2 separate regions of the Homo sapiens genome follow, and region 2 is linked to region 1. The links are contacts of gene promoters, found by promoter capture Hi-C in blood cells and fetal thymus (Javierre and others, 2016). All regions are on one chromosome and are shown on one strand. The core of a region is centred on a gene start or on the middle of the fragment in contact, and the rest is flanking DNA. Distances in the headings are between cores, read along the strand shown. Region 1 holds the start of ADGRA3 (adhesion G protein-coupled receptor A3). Region 2 has its middle 44 kb from the start of ADGRA3.

What was found. The method cuts DNA at HindIII sites, captures the fragments that hold promoters and counts their contacts. A CHiCAGO score of 5 or more calls a contact.
Region 2: a fragment that was not itself captured here is called in contact with the fragment with the promoter of ADGRA3 in region 1 in 1 of 17 cell types (fetal thymus); the score reaches 5.4 in fetal thymus.

What each region holds. Positions count from the first base shown.
Region 1 is chr4:22,513,636-22,517,748 of GRCh38, forward strand. It overlaps ADGRA3 (adhesion G protein-coupled receptor A3), which reads right to left and starts at 2,431. Exons shown (of 19, transcript NM_145290.4): 1 at 1,893-2,431. The coding sequence starts at 2,149. MIR12115 (microRNA 12115) reads left to right here and starts at 1,677; the gene lies at 1,677-1,750. The HindIII fragment of the contact is 8,309 bases long and covers 200-4,113 here.
Region 2 is chr4:22,558,456-22,562,011 of GRCh38, forward strand. No RefSeq gene overlaps it. Among named protein-coding and RNA genes, the nearest start is that of ADGRA3, 44 kb to the left of the region's middle. The HindIII fragment of the contact is 271 bases long and covers 1,552-1,822 here.

The DNA of each region.
Region 1 (4,113 bases), core at 1,181-3,680:
CAAGTAGCTGGAATGACAGGCATACGCCACTACGCCTGGCTAATTTTTGTATTTTTAGTAGAGACAGGGTTTCGTCAAGTTGGCCAGGCTGGTCTTGAACTCCTGACCTCAAGGGATCCACCCGCTTTGACCTCACAAAGCCCTGGGATTACAGGTGTGAGCCCACCATGCCCAACCTTAACTTTATTTTCATCTAAAAAGCTTTCAGGCAAAAAAAAAAAAAAAAAAAAAAAAAAAAACTGGATTGAAATGACATTTCATAGTTACTTATATTTTAACCAGTTTCTAAAAATTGTAGAAAAATAGTTTAATTGGTAATATGCTGAAAATCAATTTACCACCATATCCCCTATTTTTTTCTGCAACGCAAAATCAACAATTTACTAGTAGTTGACCTAATCCAGCTGAAATTGTGGACACTTTTAGGTCAGAAAAACTGGACCTAAACATGAGTCAACGTAAATGTCACTCATTGACCCAAAACCTAAATGTTTATAACATAACTGCATGATGACTAATTTTTGCAGAGTAACAAAGAAAATCTCCTCCAACATTGGGATTTTCTCCATTTGGACTGTAATTAAAGTCCCATACCGAAAATTTCCACTTCAAAGAATCTGACTAAGAAATAAATAAATATAACTGCTGCCACCACCACATGGTAACGTGTTAGTAACGGAGTCAAATAAAACAAAAACTCTTTCATCCATCTTCATGCCTCCATAAATAGACACATAGACACAATTTTCATGGTTAAACGTTTCCTAATTCAAAAAATGGAAATGAAGGTAAACAAAAGTGTTAGTAATGAAATGTATACCTGGCCTACCTGTGTATACTCCTGCTGAATTTGGGTTACATTTAAAACCATACTTTAAGTGTTTTCATAGATCATGCTGCGGTCCTTGCATTCATGTTTGTATAGTGGCTGCCTTGATTCTTTTTTTAGGAAACCAACCAAAACAACATAGAGGAACCCCGAGCCAAGGGACTCACATTTCAGTTGAACAAAATACCCATGAGAAACACTTAGACTCAAAACTTTCCAAACCAATTCATCCTTCTGAAAACAAACTCGACAGTCACTGGGGCCAACTGTTCAGCTAGAATTGGCAAAACTACGTTTGCAAAACTGAACCGTGAATCCCAGCACAAGTGAGTTACCAAAATTTTTCCTTCCAGGTGGAAACTCAATCCGAAAATCAAAAATCCCTCGAGTTGGAAGGCTCAATAAACCCACGGTTTTCAGTTCCAATGTTCCTGGCTTTTAAATATAAGCCCTCACAGACACGAAAACGGGACTGCAAGGTACATAAACAGATTGATCTGAAATGTTTCCAGCCCTTAATAACAACTCTATCTTAAAAGGTGCTCTTTAACTGTAATAAAACTAAGATAGCAAAAGGCAAAGGAAGCGTCTTGGGGTTTGGGCTCGCACACAGTCCTTGTGTTTTGCAAACTCTACCACGTAAGTGTAACTTAATTTGCAAAGAAGCAGAAGGACTGGCGCTTGCAATCAAGCATTGTGTTTTCTGGAAACCCAAGCCCAGGATGAATGAGCTTTAACTCTGTTGACTGCGTGTTTACTTGCATCCTCACGTGGCACCGCGCAGCCCAAAAGCGCTGCGCCGGGGACAGCGCGGGGAGCGCCTGAGAACCCGAAAACTTTACTTTGCAAACTAGTGGAGCTGGGAGGCAGCTCGGACGCAGATTCCCTTGCCTTTCCCTGAACTGCACCCATGCCAAGCACACGAGGTCTTTCCTAGCACCGCCCCCTGCCTACAGCTCCACACAAAGGCGCGTGGGTGCCGGCTGGACCCTGCTCCAAAGTTGAGCGGAGAGATAAGAAAGAGCCGAGCGGGAGAGGACCCAGCGTCGCGGGAGATACTCACAGGGTGACCGTGCGGTTGGGCAGAGTATCTGGGGGCAGGACCTGCGCGAGTTCCAGGCTGCTGCACACCACCTTGCCCTCGGCGGCGCCCGCCGCCCTGCCAGCCCCTCGGGGCCGCCCATCGTGCTTGCAGCCGGCGGGCAGCGCCGCGGCGCCGCCGCCGCCGCCGCCTCCCAGCAGCGCGAGCAGCGCTAACAGCGAGAGCGGCAGCAACAGCGGCGGCTGCGCGCGGCCCCGCCGGCGTCCGGGTGGCTCCATGCTGCGGGCCGGGGCCTGCGGGGCGAGCGGCGGCGCACTGGCCTAGCGGGCCGCCCCGGAGCCCGGGCGGGCAGGAGCGCGGCGCGGGCCCAGCGGCGACCGGAGCCTTATGGCGGCCGGAGGACGGGCCTTCCCCGGCGCGGACATGCTCCTTTGTCCGCTGCGGCTGCGCTGGGCCTCTAGGGAGCCGGGGGTCACGGCCGCATGGGTCCCAGCGCCGCTCTACCGCCCGGCGCGAGCACCGCCTCCTCCTCCTCCTCTGCCGCCGCCGCCGCCGCCACTGCCTCCTCCCCTGGCCAGGACCCGCGCGCGGCGGCTCCTCCCCGCCCGCCGCCGGCGGCCGCCCCCGCCCCTTCCCCTCCTCTTTCCCGGCTCTCCTGCTCTCCCCGTGTCTGCAGCTGCCCGGGACCTCGGGGAGGAGGCGCGCGCTCCCGGGACCTGCCGAGCCCGACTCCGACCCGGTGCGCGCCCGGGCCTCGGCCTCCGGGCAGGAGTTGTGGGGAGCCCGCGGGAAGGCAGTAACTCGTAGAGAGAACGGAGGAAAGTTCGAGTCCGAACGGAGGAAAGTTCGAGTCCAAACTCCACCCGCGGTGGCCACTCTCCTGCTCGTTTCCCTTCGCCGCCACCGCGCTCGCACCGCGGGCACAGGACAAAGCAGTCTTGTGCGCTCCTGGAGACTGCCCATGTGGCCCAAGGAGCCTGGCCCGGAGGATGGAGTAGGGACGAGAGTAGGGAATTTCCCTGACCAACCCTATGGGAAAAGTACCCAAAACCAAGTGTTTCGGAAGGAATCGCCTTCTCACCTCATTATGGTAGTCTTATTTGTCCCAAATACACTGGAGCCAGTAAACAGGTTCCTCTTCAATACAGTGAACAATCTGAAGCTGTTTCTGGCCTTCAGCAACAACAGCGATGGTCTCTAAAGGATGCATCTGGACCTCACTAGAAAGGCAGCCTTTTGAAAGAAATTCGACAGGCAAAGATACTTGAGATGTTCACCAGTTCGAGCAATAATGAGCAAACCCTCCAAGAAACCCCAACAGAATTGATTACTCTGACTTCCAGCCTCGCCCTAACATTTGCAAGCCCAGGGCTTACCTACCCTATGTTTAAAATTTTACAAGGACTATATCATGCTAATAAAATATATTCTGTGCTCCTGCCTTGAGAAATTACCTTCATAACAACCTGGAAGGTTTGTAAGCAGGATTCTCAGACACCTTGGAGTTTCTCCCTGAAACATGGCAGGTGGGAAAGAGTCAGATCCAAACCTTTGGCCTGTACACCTTCACCGTCTTTGCTTCCTGTGCCCAGCTATCTTCAAGGACAAGAGGGGATTTTTTGTACCTGTGTGTGAACACCGCAGCCCACAAAACCAAGTTCTGTTCACACTTTCTAACAGCCACCCTCTGTCTGCGTCTGGATCTCAGGTGTGCCTATACCAGTTGTTGGGTCCTTCATTGGGAGGACAGTTCTCAGAAGAAGCTAGCTCAGGGCCAAGAAGTGGCTTTGGTAATACCAGTCAGGGAATTCCAGGGTCCTGGGTCTTGGGGACATAGTGGGTACCCAGGCTTTGGGTGCTGGCCTGGAGATTTTTCACCCCATAAGAAGAGTCAGGTTGGTGTCCTCTAAAATGGAGGGCCTAGAACACGGTTTTTCTTGCTTGGGTCTAAGGACACTACTGCCTCTGGCCCCTACAAAATTTATCTTAGGGACCAATTTGCAGGAATCTGTTTATCTGGCTAGAGCTTTCTCAATGGGAAGTAAATAAATGGTCTCCATTTATCATTTATCAGTGTTGTATTAAATTTGAATAGCAGTTCATTTGACCAACCCAACCATGTCCAGTGCTGTCTAATAATACATTCTGTGATTGTATAGCTGTTCTAGTTCTTTGCTGTCTAATATGGTGGCCAACTGTGGCTACATAGTGTGTGGAATGTAGATAGTGTGCAATAAGAATT
Region 2 (3,556 bases), core at 437-2,936, 44 kb after region 1:
CCGAGTAAAACAGATTGCCCTCCCTAATGTGGGGGGACCCTCGCTCAATCAGCTGAAGGCCAAACTAAAACAAACTGGCTGATTCTAAGAGGGGACCCACCTCTCCTCCCTGGCTGATTGAGCAATGATGTTGGTCTTTTCCTGCCTTTGCACTTGAACTGGAACATCAGCTTTCTTGAGACTCAAGCTTGCTGGTTTTCAGACTGGAATTTATACCAATGACTCTCCTGGGTTTTCAGCTTGGGAACTGCAGATCTTGAAACTTCTCAGCTTCCATAATCATGTCGGCCAATTCACTATAATTAATCTCTTTCTACATGCATCCTGTTGGTTCTGATTCTTTGGATAACCCTGACTTATACAATATAACTTATTTTTTCTTTTGTTATTTATAATTTTGGTGTCATATCTAACAGGCTTTGCATAACCCACAGTCATGAAGATTTATGCCTATATGTTCTTCTAAGTGTTTTATAATTTTAGCTCTTATATTAGGATTATGGTCCTTTTTGGACTAATTTTTGTGTATACTGTGAGAAATGATTCCAACTTTATTCTTTATATGTAGATATCTAGTTTTACCAGCATCATTGATTCATAACACTTCTTACTGCCCATTGAATTGTCTTGGCACCCTTGTCGAAAATCAATTGACCGTAAATATGGGTATTTATTTCTGGACTCTCTATTCTATTCCAAGAACTTATGTGTCTACTGTTATATTACCACACCGTCTTGATGACTATAGCTTTGTAGTAAGTTTGAATTTGAGAAGTGTGAGTGTTAGCATTCAATCCTCCAACGGTAAGTATGATGGTAGCTGTGTTTTTTTGTAGATGCCCTTTAAGTTGAGAAGGTTTCTCTCTATTCCTAGTTTGTGGATACTCTTTATCAAAATGTTGTTGGTTTTGTCAATGCTTTTCCTACCTCTGTGGAGATAATCTTGTCCTTTATTGTATTCATGTGGATGGTGTAGTACGTTAATTAACTTTTGGATGTTTCGTTAACTTTGCATTCTGAGGCAAATCTTGTTTTAAAATTATGAATCAGTGCTCTTTTGACACATAATGCTGAAATATATTAATAATGCCAGATAGCTTGTTATAACGTTGTGGAACCAATTCTATGATGCTTGGATTTTTGAGGTTTTTCAATCTGAAGACTGGATATACCTTAATATTCCAACTGTGAATTGAGATTTACTTTCCTACTTGTGTTCCCATTTTCATTTTCTTTTACTCATGTAGCAGTGAAATTTTCAACTCATATGAAAACATGATGAGAATTATAAGCCCCAAAGTTAAAAATAGAAATCACACAAAAGTTGGCCTACTGCATTAGTTTGCTAAGGCTGCTATAGCAAAGTACCACAAACTGAGTGGCTTAAACAAAAGAAATGTATTGTCTCACATTTCTGGAGGTCAAAAGTCTGAGATCAAGATGCTAACAGGGTAGGTTCCTTCTCAGGGTTGTGAGAAAGAATCTGTTTCATGCCTCTTCCTTATCTGCTGGTGGTTTGCAGGCTATCTTTGGTATTCTTCAGCTTACAGAAGCTTCACTCCATATCTGTCTCCAGCTTCACATGGTGTTTTCTGTGCCCAAATTCTCCTTTTTATGAGGACACCAGAGGATGTTGGATTAGAGCTCACTTTAATGACTTCATTTTAACTTGACTGTCTCCATAAAGACTCTGTCTTCAAATAAGGCCACTTTCTGAGTTCCTCAAGGTTAGGACTTCAACATATGAATTCAACCCAAACAGGTACCCTTTGAGAAGTGAATCAAATTATTTTCTGTAGCTTCCAGGTAAACCCTTGAAAGAAGCTTTAAAATAACAAACTTGAAAATGATATTTCCATATTTACAGTATTTAATTCTTATTAATGAAATAAGGTAAAATACTAATTTTTGCATATTGGAAATTTTTTGTTTGATGCTAGAAACAGTCTGGATAAGAACTAACTGTCACATATTCTAACACCCATTATTCTTTATTATGGTTAGGAAAGATAATTCTACGAAGAAAACGCTTAAAATAATGGAATTCTAGGGGATGTCAGGTGTATTCGCTGTGGTTTGAGTAAGTAAACTTTTGTTGTATTGGGAGAGAAAGAAAGAAAAAGGAAAGGAAAGTGAAAAGGTGGGAGAGACAGAATGAACAAGAGCAGTAGACAAAGTAGAGAAAGAAGAGAAAGAGACAGCAACTCTGATAGATTAATTCTTCACTGGTGATATGACTGTCAGAGACAAATGGTTTAGAATTACCATAGATTTTAAAGTCAGATTCAAACAAAATTCTAATAAGTCTCTGTTCTGCATGGATAATGCTTTTAAGATGATACGATTTTTTTTTTCCATTTTACGTTTTAGGGTGCTGTCAGAAGGATTCAAATCTTTTGCATCTATTTCCACAATTTACATATTCAACTATACTGACATTTACCTAAATGTTTTATCTTCTTCCTCCCATTAAACAAATCATGTTTGAGCTTTGCAAGTAGAAATCCAAGTTTTGCAATGCAAACATAAGCTGAGTAAATACCAAATAATTATTAGACAACTTGTTTGGAAATTTAAAAAACTAGGGCAGTAACTTAATATTCCAATTATGAACAACTACATAACTGAGAGCTTTTTATTGTTCTAATAATGTGTATGTAAACTAATTATATGGGCTAATCTTCTAAATAAGATTAATTGTGATTTATGGAACATTAATTTAAATGGTTGTCCAAAGCCTGATATTCTCGAGTCCATTTTTTAAAATATAACTCTTTTAAGAAATGAAAATACGTTAGACTATGTAAATTTACTTAATTTAAAAATTGTAGTTAGTAGCTTCTTGAAATGACTTTGAAATAATGTATTCCCAAGCTTTGCTTTTAATAGATACATTAAAAGTTGTTTTTATCTTGTCACTCTTAAGCAATGGCATTACCTGGTCATAACAGAAATTATACATTTATTTAAAAGAAAATCTCCATTGAAAATGACATTTTCAGAGGTTCACAAAGATCAGAGAGCTAATATCAGTCTTCAGGGCTTGCACATATTAGGAATGCATAAATGGATAATTTGCAAAACAATGAGTAAATCTAGGATATATACAACATATACATTAAAAATTATAAACAAATTAAGGTTGTTTTTGAAAATATTCCTCATTCCTCACAGATTTTTAAATAGTAAAATTTGAGGCTTCAGGGCAATAACTCAGGGTAATAATAGGTTTATGAATCTTATTATATCTTTTAAGCTTACAATTTGACTTAAATTTTTAGTGCAATAAATCTTGTAGACCATGAAATTAATTTTTCTTTCTTTTCTTTTTTTTTCTTCTTGTATGCACAGCAGAGTGTCTAGTTAGAAATCAGTGCTTCTTGCTGGAGAATGAAAGATGAAGGAAGACATACGATATTCAATATGTATTAGCTGATTATTTTTCATCTGCATAAGAACACAATGTTGTAAATAGAGCAAGGATGCTTTTCATATATTCTGATGGACCCCAAACATTAAGTTTTAGTGCATATTTATTGTATGCTTATAATATTTT